4 separate regions of the Homo sapiens genome follow, and regions 1, 3 and 4 are each linked to region 2. The links are contacts of gene promoters, found by promoter capture Hi-C in blood cells and fetal thymus (Javierre and others, 2016). All regions are on one chromosome and are shown on one strand. The core of a region is centred on a gene start or on the middle of the fragment in contact, and the rest is flanking DNA. Distances in the headings are between cores, read along the strand shown.

Region 1 (2,700 bases), core at 66-2,565, 2.6 Mb after region 2:
GTAAGACAAATCCAGAGTGCTGGGCATTCTACAAAACACATGAACCGGACTGTTGAGAAATGTCAATGTCATAAAAGATCAAAAGCGGAGGAGGAGAGCTCTACAAAAAAGGTGACATGACAACTACATGAGGGTGTGATACTCAAATGGACTCTGTAGCAGGGGATTGAAAATTACTATAGGCCAGGCGAGGTGGCTCACACCTGTAATCCCAGCACTTTGGGAGGCCGCGGCAGTCGGATCATTGGAGGTCAGGAGTTCAAGAACAGCCTAGCTGACATGGTGAAACCCCATCTGTACTACAAATACAAAAAAATTAGCCAGGTGTGGTGGCACACGCCTGTAATCCCTGCTACTTGGGAGGTAGAGGCTGCAGTGAGCTGAGATCACACCACTGCACTCCAGCCTCTGCCACAGAGTGAGACTCCATCTCAAAGAAGGAAGGAAAGAAAGACAGAGAGAAAGAAAGGAAGGAAGGAAGGAAGGAAGGAAGGAAGGAATGAAGGAAGGAAGGAAGGGAAAGAAAGAAAATTATTGTAAAGAACATTGCTGGGACCGTTGGGGCAATTTAAATGTGATTATAAATTAAGTAATGTATCAATGTTAAGGTTCTTGGATATGGTGATGTTGTGGTTATATAAAGAAATGTCTTTATTCTTAGAAGACGTGTTGAATTATTGAGAGGTAAAGTGTCAGGGTGTCTGCAACTATCAAAGCTTTCATCCAGAGGAAGAGAGAGAAAGATGAAATAAATGTGGCTAAATGTGATAATTTGATGAATCCCAGTGAAGACCAAGAAGATGTTCATCTTCCAGCTTTTCTATAGGTTTGAAACTTTTCAGAGTGAAAAGTTGGGAGGATGGAAAAAGAAGTAAATAAATAAATGAATCAATTGAGTCAACAATTGAGATTCCTTTTCCCTAAGACCTTTATAAGCAGTTTGCTCACATTGATTCTGATGTGGACAGTTCTGGATGTAAAGGGGGCAGGCCTAGAATGAATGATCTTTCCTGGCGTCTTCCAGATTGCAGATGTACGTTTGGTTTGGTTTGGTTTGGTTTTTAATTTGGGAATTACAAAAGCAGCAGGGACCCTGTGCGAAGCTTGAGCGGCTGCTGCCATCTTGTGGATCTCAGCACTTCTGCAAAGTTGGAAACATATTCCAGGTCACTGCAGGCTAAGGAGCCCCCCTCCACAGCCTGGGAAGGAATGCCCTGGAGGTTAAAGGTGTAAGTACTTTTGTTAACTTCCTTCCAGAGTGAGTGACGATGCAGCCTACATCCTTCAGTGGGTTCTCTGGATGCACAGGGTCCTCCGCCTTTAAAGTCAGCAGGCCTGACAAAACTTGCATCGATTTCACTCTGCAAAATTCAGGCTAGGGAGCCATTGAGTGGGAATTTACTGACATTTGCACGCAATATTGACTTGTTGGCATTGTTTTCTTATTCATGAAGTCTCATAAAAATGATACTGGGCACTTCTGATACCAGCTTTTCAAACCTCTAATTGGTTCACAGACAAAGCTTTGAAAGCAGGTGTGGGAGGGTCACGATCAGAGACAGTGAGAAAGAGGAGGGAGTGGACTACCTTAGAAGGAGAGCGGGAGGAGGAGCCAGAAAAAAAACTAGCTTCTAGATTTTCTTTGCAGGCAGGGTGGATGTGGTAAGAAGCTCTGAGGACTTTCAGGCTAGGTGGACTTGGGTTTGCATTTCAGCACTGAGGTGCCACTTTCTGCTTGGGGCAGCTTAGACATCTCCTGGGGATTGTTATCTGAATGGTGGTGATAACACATAGGGGATTATGTTAAGGACTGAGGATGTTTTAAGGCAGCAGTTTTAAACTTGAGCAAGCCCCAGAATAATCTAAAGGGTTAAAACATAGATTTCTACCCCGACTCCTCCCCCAGAGTCTCTGATTCAGCAGGTCCCAGGTGGTCCCAAGCATCTGCATTTCTTTTTTTTTTTGAGACAGAGTCTGGCTGTGTTGCCCAGGCTGGAGTGCAATGGCAAGATCTCGGCTCACTGCAACCTCTGCCTCCCGTGTTCAAGCAATTCTCCTGCCTCAGCCTCCCAAGTAGCTAGGACTACCGGCACATGCCACCATGCCCAGCTAATTTTTGTATTCTTAGCAGAGATGGGGTTTTGCCATGTTGGCCAGGCTGGTCTTGAACTCCTGACCCCAAGTGATCCTCCCACCTCTGCATTTCTAATAAGTTCCCAGGCAGCGCTGATGCTGCAGGTCTGGTTACCATGCTTTGAGAACCATTGTTTTAAGGACTAAAATGGCATAAACATATGGTAAGCATGGGGTAGGTAGTCAACAATCAATCAGACCTCTGCCTGACACTTCCCAGGGCTCCTTCCAACACACCCCCTTTGAGTAGGCACAAGCATTTCTGAGACTGAGTATATCTCTACAAGACATGTCCTGGGTGTTTATCTTAGACATGAGATAAAGCAAAGTTCTCACAGTAGTGCAGGGAAAAGACCCACGTGGGCTTAGGCTGGGATTTCAGGCACTGAGTGGTGCGGCTCAGGCTTGGATGGGCACAGTTGCTTGGCCCCACCCTGTGCAGAGACGTTTGACTGAAAAAGACACAGGCCTTTTTTTTTTTTTTTAATTTTACTTTAAGTTCTGGGATACATGTGCAGAATGTGCAGGTTTGTTACATAGGTATACATGTGCCATGGTTGTTTGCTG
Region 2 (2,700 bases), core at 19-2,518:
TTAAAATGTTTGCATGTTTGTCTTCCCTCAAAGACTGTGAACTACTTGTGGGGAGGAATGATCTTTTGTATCTGTATTCACGGCACCTAGCATGGTGTCTCACTCATAGTAGATTCTTGGTAAATGTTTGTTAAATGGATGTGAAGTTAAGTGGATGTGTATACAGCATACAGAGGTGGTGGCACTGGTGGGAAGCAAGATGCCAGTTCCTAGGGCTGAGCACAAAACCCACCCTGGACCATCCGTAAGACGTGCAGGAACATCTGTTCCATCGCTAGCGCCCTCTACCTCCCCATTTTGTTTTGGAGGCAGGGAAGGTTATTGGTCTGAAAAGATCTCCATCTCAGAAGAAAAGAACGCTGATACATGTTATGGATATCTCACATTCACTCATTGATTTAACGAATGTTCACTGAACATTTACTCTGTACCACGGCTCATCTGATTCTCACAACCTCTCTCAGCATTATCCGCATTTTTAGATGAGAAGGCTGAGGCTCAGATTTATTTGCATAAGGTCCCACGGATAGCAAGTGACATAGCTGAAAATTCACTGGTTCTGACTCTGGAGGGTGTCGGGCAAGAGTCAGGGGTTGCGGGTCTCCAGAGGGCTGGTCCAAGTGGGGCTCACCTGAACTTGGTGTGGCTGGGAGCCGCGTTCTGTTCAACTTTCTGCTTGGCCGCAGCGTCTTGGAGCTGTCGAGCGCCTGTGCAGATGGTCCCGGCCGGCGTTCTGGCCACGACCCTGCTGGGAAGAAAAGCTCGGTGAGGGCCACGGCCTAACGGTCACTGGGGCCCGGGTGGCTCAAGGGACACGAGTAGGAGCATAGTCCTGGAGGTGGCGGTGGGCTCGAGGGGGCAGTCATTTGTTACCCGGCTGTCTGGGGCCAAGTCCAGGACCGCAGGAACCGCGACCCCGCGTTTCTCACAGCCTGCATGACTTGAATTGACCCCAGTCAGTTTCCGTCTGCAGCGACAGTCACAGCTGCGCCGGCGCCGGTACCATGAGTGCCTGTCGGGGAGGGGACAGAAGGGAAAGTCATCTACTCTTCATTAGGTCCACTGAATATTTTTATTTCCATTTAAATGCTCAATAAGACTTTCACTGTAGTTCACCAGGGGATTCTTTCCCTTTTTTAATGTTCTGAGATGGTGGGTCACCCCCTCCATATGCGAATGGTTCGTTCTAGCAGTTCCGGGACTGAGCTTTCCCCTAGTTTGCCGCTCCCGCGGCTGAGGGATCCCTGGGAGCCGCGGTGCATTGTGGGAGAACGAAAGATGGCGGCGCCCGTAAGGCGGACGCTGTTAGGGGTGGCGGGGGGTTGGCGGCGGTTCGAGAGGCTCTGGGCCGGCAGTCTAAGCTCTCGCAGCCTGGCTCTTGCAGCCGCACCCTCAAGCAACGGATCCCCATGGCGCTTGTTGGGCGCGTTGTGCCTGCAGCGGCCACCTGTAGTCTCCAAGCCGTTGACCCCATTGCAGGAAGAGATGGCGTCTCTACTGCAGCAGGTGGGACTGAGATGCAGGGTTCAGAGTGACGTTTATTCTGCGTGACTTTGAGCGAGTAATTTCACCTCTCTGAACTTAAGTATACGGTACTTATCCGCAGAATGGTACCTACCTTACTGACTTGGTTTGGTACATAGATGTTCAACAAAAAGTGGTTTCTTTTCATTGGCCGTGTTTATTGTCACCTTAGACAACTCTTTGGAGATACTCTACTTCTTGTTCATGCAACACAATAGGGATCCTGTGGTGAACAAGAATCGGTCCGTGTCACTAGGAGCTTACAAGTCTGGAGGGAGAAAGTCTTTGTGATGTGATGAATGTTAAGAAGGAAATACAAGAGGCGGTGGGCACATCTGTCAGATGCCTATGATAAGCCTACTCTGTTTTATCTCATGGGGCTATCTGTGTGAGGGGCAAGTGAGGAAGCATGGGCAAAAACAGTGTAGTGGCTGTGAAGGTGTGAGGTCGCTACAGAAAGTGTTTGAAGGGTGATATGTTTCCTCAGAATCCGAGATGTTTTTGTCTTGGTCTGTTGAGAACTATAAACTTCTCTTCTGTGCTTTTTGCTTGATTTATTCATTTACTCGCTCGCTTGACAAATATTTGTTACTCAACCTACAGATGTTCATTGTGCCCATACTATGCATCAGAGAGTATGTTAAGTGATAGAGATGCTGTAATGAATAAGGCAGAAGTAGCTCTGGTTCTCAGAGTACTTCAGTCTAGTTGAGTGAGGGGATCAGTCAGTAACCAAATAATCATACAACTAAATGCAGACCCTGATAAGTGTTGTTAAGGAAAACACAAGGCACTATAAGAGTGTTTAACAAATACATCACATTTTGATTTTATGGTGAGTGTCAAGGAATGCCTCAGACTTTCTGAATACAGGTTTTTCTCTTTATGAGAAATGTCTCTCTGAGACAGTCATATTTAAATTGAAATCAGAAAGATGAGTAGGACTCTCCCAGAAGAAAGAATGTGAGGAAAAACATTCTAGGAAGAAGGAACAACCTCTTGAAAGTCCCTGAACAGGAAAGTCCTTGGTGAGTGAGATTCTGATCAAAGACTGACATGACTGGATTGTGGTGAGTCAGCAGGCATTGCCCAACCCAGCTCTCTGTTTTTGTAGCACTCTTGACCCCCAGTGACATTGTAACATTTTTGGCAAATGTAACTCAAGCCCAAAGTTCA
Region 3 (2,700 bases), core at 140-2,639, 2.6 Mb after region 2:
TCACTGCAACCTTCGCCTCCCTAGTTCAAGCAGTTCTGCCGCCTTAGCCTCCCAAGTAGCTGGGATTACAGGCACCCACCACCATGCCCAGCTAATTTTTTTGTATTTTTAGTAGAGACGGGGTTTCACCACATTGGCCAGGCTGGCTTCGAACTCCTGACCTCAATCTGCCTGCCTCAGCCTCCCAAAGTGCTGGGATTACAGGCATGAGCCACTGTGTCCAGCCAGAAGTACTTATTCTTAGGGGAGTAGAAACATTTGACCTTCAGCCAGTCAGAGGCTAAAGGCAGCATGACTGGGGGTGGTGCTACTCAAAGGGTGGTCCTTATACATCAGCTTTACCTGGGAGCTGGTCAAAATGCTAATTCTCAGGTCTCACCCCAAACCTACTGAATTAGAACCTGCATTTTAATAAGAAACCCAAGTAATTCCTGTGCACAGTAAAGTGAGAAATGCTGGTCTAGGACAGGGATTCTCAGTGTGGTTTCCAGACCAGCAGCATCAGCATCACCTGAGAACTTGTTAGAAATGCAAATTGTCAGGCCTCACTTCCAGACCTCTGGGGAAGGGGCTCAGCACGTGGTTCTAATGAGCCATCCAGGTGACACTGGTACGCATTAAAGTTTGAGAAGCACTGATTTCAGAAACATCTTATGCATTTTGGAGACAGGCAATTCGGAGGAATCTCAGGAAAGGAATCCTGATTGCAGCTTGGAAGGAAGACCCAGAACACCGGCGCCAGCCAGCACCGTCTCCTGCTGCTCCAGCCTCCTGACACTCTTACCCACAGACAGCAGACCCAGAATCCAGGCTTCCCTTGCCAGCCCAGGAATTCCCAAGTTTCAGAGCTCAGCTGGTTGGAGGTCACTGCATTGAGTAGTGGCCGTTCCAAATTGGTACACCATATACAATCAAGCCAAACCCCAGAAGAAAACAGAACAGCCCAGATCTGTAATCCAGCCACCAGCTGAGGTCTCTCCACACTTAAGGACCAGATACTACCAGCTAGAACTTCACTCCTTGACCTGCGGAAACCCAGGATCCTCCCCCATGACTTCTGGGTGTTCTTAAAAAGCTTATTTCAGGGTCCCTTCTAGATTCAAGTTCTGCAGCTGAATCAAGTCAGCAGATGGACAACCTCACCCATCCTCACAGGGAGTCCCTTGCCCCATGGCATCAACCTGGATATGGGACCCAGCACATCTGTGGTTACTGTTTTATGAAATATATCCCACTAGGATTTTGAAGGTAGTACACTTTCATGAAGCCACTAGGGAAAGGGGCTCCAATCAAAGAAATACAAATCATTTCCAACTGAGTAGCAGCATCTCTATTCTTAAAAGCCCCAGAACCCACCAGAATGCTCTGACACCTTCCCCTCCCTATTGTGCTGAACCCCTGTAAACCTCAATAGAGAAGGCATCAGGTTCAAGAGGCTGAAGAGACCCAGAGCAAGCACATGAGACATAGGGCTTTATTACGGAGCTTACCTACAGAGAAGAGGGTCCAGTGGCTGTGGGTTTGACCCCCTTACCTGCAGAAATGGTCCAGTGGCAGCGGGCTGGACAAGATATCCATCTCATCTACGGCCCAGTGGTAGTGGGCTGGGCAGGAAAACCACAGCCACCTGCAAATAACATGTAGTTTATATAGCATTTTAATTTAACACCCTCTGCGTAATGACCTCCACCTGGCAAGCTTCATTTAACCCAAAACTCAGGGCTTCAATTCCCTATACAGCCCGTGTTCCATGGGGTAAGCTGTAGGCTCAGATGTTCATCATGGATAAGGAATGAATCTCTGGGTTGGCCACTCCCAGATTCCCTAGCTCAGAACACACATTCAGGTGTGTCTGCCATGCAGGGTCATTCTAAGTGTATGCTTAAATGATTGCTATTGGGTGCATTTACCCCACATTCCCCTCTGATCTTCTCTCTGCTCCTCTCTTCTTTACGCCCACATCATCAAATTTCTATTTATTTATAATACAAAGAAATTCGCGTCTTGACTCTCTATAAACTATGCTTTCAACATCTTACCTTCTATACCAAGCAGGATCTTTTCTTAAATATTTTCTTCTCTAAAAGGCATTCCCTTTATCAACTATATAAATACAGGAATAGATCCAAGGGATCTATTCTTCCTCTGCCGAAGCACACAGCCCCTCCTCCTTCCCAGGCACTCCTTTGCAGAGTCTTCATTACCCCACCTTGTCCCACTTTCTTAATCTAACTCTGAGATGTTTTCTTTTATAATAACTCGAGTTATTTTCTCTCCTTCCTTTGTCTGAGACCAAACCTCATTTCTGGGACTTCTATTGTACACAAGGCCATTAACCCCCATCACAGCCTGGAATTACATGTCTCTTATCTTTGGATCATTTCCAAGGCAGCTGGCAGCTTGATACAAAAGCTAAAGTCTGGAGATGTTTTTAATGTAAAGGCTGGGAATCCCAGAGGAAAGGAACTCTATCACAGAAACTCTCCTCTCCTTTCCATTCCCAACACCGGTCTCCTAGCTCAAGACTCACTCTCTTTTCCTCAACTATTACGATAGCTGTGTATGATTTCCCCAATTCAACCCCACCACACCTCATCACCACCAACTCCACCTTTTCCCCATTCATAGAGTCAGCCCCATCCTCATAAACCTTGAATGTTCCCAGTTGCTTATAAAACAGCACCAACCTTCCCAGCTCAG
Region 4 (2,700 bases), core at 187-2,686, 2.2 Mb after region 2:
TTTATCTTTGTCAATCCATAGCCAGTCATCAATTATGCCGGGATGATACAAGTTCTAAAATTTAAGACATTTAGAACTCATCAACCTTGGATATTAACCTTTGATTCCCTAGAGTAAAACAAAACAAGTGCATGCGGATTGATTGAGCAGGGTTCAATCTGCACGCATTCACTTATTCACTGATTCCTTTGTTCATTTAGATAACTTACTCTGAGTGTCCACTCTATAAAACACATTAGAGTCAATAGCTTAAGAAATAAGGAAGAATGAATAAGAAATAAGAATAAGAAGAATAGCTTAAGAAATAAGAATAAAACAGAGTCCCCAGATCCGAGGCTCACATAGTCTAAAGTAGGGGGTCAGCAAATTGCCCACAGCCCGTTTTCATGAAGTTTTTCACTTCTTTATATGTTGTCTGTTGCTGTTTTTGTCCTATAAGGGAAGAGTTAAGTAGCTGTGACAGAACTGTCTGATCCACAAACCGTAAAATATTTACTATCATCTGGCGCTTTTACAGAAAAAGCTTCTTGAAAAAAAGACAGACTCTAAAAACAACCAGATATCATTCAACCCTCGGGGAAGATCTTGGGAGACAAATTTACATTTCATCAGGCTTTATGCCCTTATATCATCACTTCCTGAAACCTCCAGGACTTTTGAAATGGTGATGACAATAAAACAAGAGTTCATCTTTATTGAGATGTACCAAGATCCAGTACTGTACTCCCACTCTTTTAAACATCACCTTGTTTAAATCTTACCAATTATCTTTGGAGTGTACTGTTTTCCCTGCTTTACAGATGAGGGAAGTGTAGCACAGAGTCATTAAGAAACATGCCACAGTGGCCACAGTTCAACTCTACACAGTCTTTCCAGAGCCTGCACAGTGACCACTGAGCAAGTGCTATTCTCCACTGTGACTTACTCTTTTTTTTTTTTTTTTTTTTTTTGAGATAGAGTCTCACTCTGTCGCCCAGGCTGGAGTGCAGTGGTGTGATCTTCGCTCACTGCAACCTCCGCCTCCAGAGTTCAAGCAATTCTTCTGCCTCAGCCTCCCAAATAGCTGGGACTACAAGTGCATGCCATCACGCACAGCTAATTTTTGTATTTTTAGTAGAGACGGGATTTCACCATATTGGTCAGGCTGGTCTGGAACTCTTGACCTTGTGATCTGCCCACCTTGGCCTCCCAAAGTGCTGGGATTAGAGGCATGAGCCACCGCTCTCGGCCTTGTGACTTACTCTTTCGGAGTAAGAGTTCTGAGCTTACAGGGAACATACACCATTCTGCACACATGCCACCAAGCCACCTTGAGCACTTTTATACTATGGTCAAAGAAACAACATGGCTGAAACCTACAAGCAGATACACAGGACAGAGGAATAGCCCTTGAGATAGAACTAAGTCTTGACAGGATCTCCTGATAAAAGACAGCATCCTGCATGAGTGTAAGAACTAGGATTAGTGGCAATCACAACCCAACAATATCTTATGTGACCAAGAGTTTTGTCTCAAACAAGAAAAACTCAACACCACCATCCACAGCTGTGTTGGACCCAGAATGGGTGCCTGGGAACACCCTGGCCACCTTGGGAAGGTGGAATTATACTGCCCATCCTGCCTGCCAGTAAAATCCCAACTGGAAGCTGACCCTCCTCACTGGGTCAGGTTCAGTTCAATTGTTTCATTAGGTCTGTTAGTCCCAAGAGACTCAGAATTTACTTGACTAGGGCTGGAGGATGAGAACAATATTTTGGATCTTCCTCCAGGTCAAACTTCACTAGTTCTTCCTTCTTGCCACTGCATAGTAAGATTTAACACATTTTCAAACCTCCCAAGGAAAGTGTCAGCCCATTTTTTAAGTTGTAATCTCAAACAACAGACTGGGCTCTGAAAGAGTCCCTTGAGTATATTTACTTCAGAGGTTTTCAAACTTGATTTCTTCTGGCCCCTCAGGAACTTCTTTGGGTGTTTCTCAATGCCTATCAAGAGGCAAGGAAAGGGAGGGGCAAAGGACAAGTCATGCTGTCATTAATTGGGGTCTCCCCTTACTCCCCATTGTTTGCTTTATGCATGCAATTTCCCTCAAAAGATTTTATGTTCAAGAAAAAAAAAAAAAAGGTTTTGCTACTAAAGAATTTCTAATCTCCTCGCCTGGGCTAGCCCTCCCATGTTTGAAAAACCAAACTGAAGTCAAGTGTTTGATTTCAGTTTGATAATTGGTAAGATTTAAACTAGCAAAGAACTAGTTTAAAGTCACAGAGCCAATCAATGGCTGCATTGAACCCAGAGTCCAGTTTCCTGACTCCATGTGGAAGGTGGGAATAATCTTTGAAATATGAAGCTTTTCTCCTTTGGAAATGGTCACAACTGAGTTCAAATTTTAGCTCTTCGTTTACCATGTGTGGGATCTTGGGCAAGTCACTAACCTCTCCTGATTACACCTTCCTTGCATGTAAAATGGGGATCATAATATTACAGGCTCTAGTGAGAATGAGATGCCATGTGTAAAGTGCCTAGCAAGTGCTGTGCTCCGTAATTATTGATAGTCATTATTCAGTGCAGGTACTCTAATAAACACTCATTCTCTCCCTACTCCCTACCCTCCTTCCCACTTCGCTGAGGGCTGGCAGTAAAAGGTTCACAAAATATACTATGACACGGCATGAGGGCTACATGCAGGGCGGGGAGGCAGGAGGG

The links. The method cuts DNA at HindIII sites, captures the fragments that hold promoters and counts their contacts. A CHiCAGO score of 5 or more calls a contact.
Region 1: a fragment that was not itself captured here is called in contact with the fragment with the promoter of MRPL46 in region 2 in 4 of 17 cell types (M2 macrophages, endothelial precursors, M1 macrophages and 1 more); the score reaches 19.9 in M2 macrophages.
Region 3: a fragment that was not itself captured here is called in contact with the fragment with the promoter of MRPL46 in region 2 in 4 of 17 cell types (endothelial precursors, M0 macrophages, M2 macrophages and 1 more); the score reaches 11.2 in endothelial precursors.
Region 4: a contact is called between a fragment that was not itself captured here and the fragment with the promoter of MRPL46 in region 2, in 1 of 17 cell types (endothelial precursors). The highest score is 6.3, in endothelial precursors.

The regions. Positions count from the first base shown.
Region 1 is chr15:85,863,708-85,866,407 of GRCh38, reverse strand. No RefSeq gene overlaps it. Among named protein-coding and RNA genes, the nearest start is that of MIR548AP, 39 kb to the right of the region's middle. The HindIII fragment of the contact is 420 bases long and covers 1,106-1,525 here.
Region 2 is chr15:88,465,956-88,468,655 of GRCh38, reverse strand. It overlaps MRPL46 (mitochondrial ribosomal protein L46), which reads left to right and starts at 1,268. Exons shown (of 4, transcript NM_022163.4): 1 at 1,268-1,506. The coding sequence starts at 1,279. It overlaps MRPS11 (mitochondrial ribosomal protein S11), which reads right to left and starts at 948. Exons shown (of 6, transcript NM_022839.5): 1 at 874-948; 2 at 632-748. The coding sequence starts at 938. RefSeq lists enhancers at 1,098-1,267, 1,734-2,700. The HindIII fragment of the contact is 6,788 bases long and covers 1-2,700 here.
Region 3 is chr15:85,883,569-85,886,268 of GRCh38, reverse strand. No RefSeq gene overlaps it. Among named protein-coding and RNA genes, the nearest start is that of MIR548AP, 59 kb to the right of the region's middle. The HindIII fragment of the contact is 623 bases long and covers 1,078-1,700 here.
Region 4 is chr15:86,232,801-86,235,500 of GRCh38, reverse strand. All of the region lies in intron 6 of AGBL1 (AGBL carboxypeptidase 1), which reads right to left. Among named protein-coding and RNA genes, the nearest start is that of AGBL1-AS1, 83 kb to the left of the region's middle. The HindIII fragment of the contact is 1,821 bases long and covers 526-2,346 here.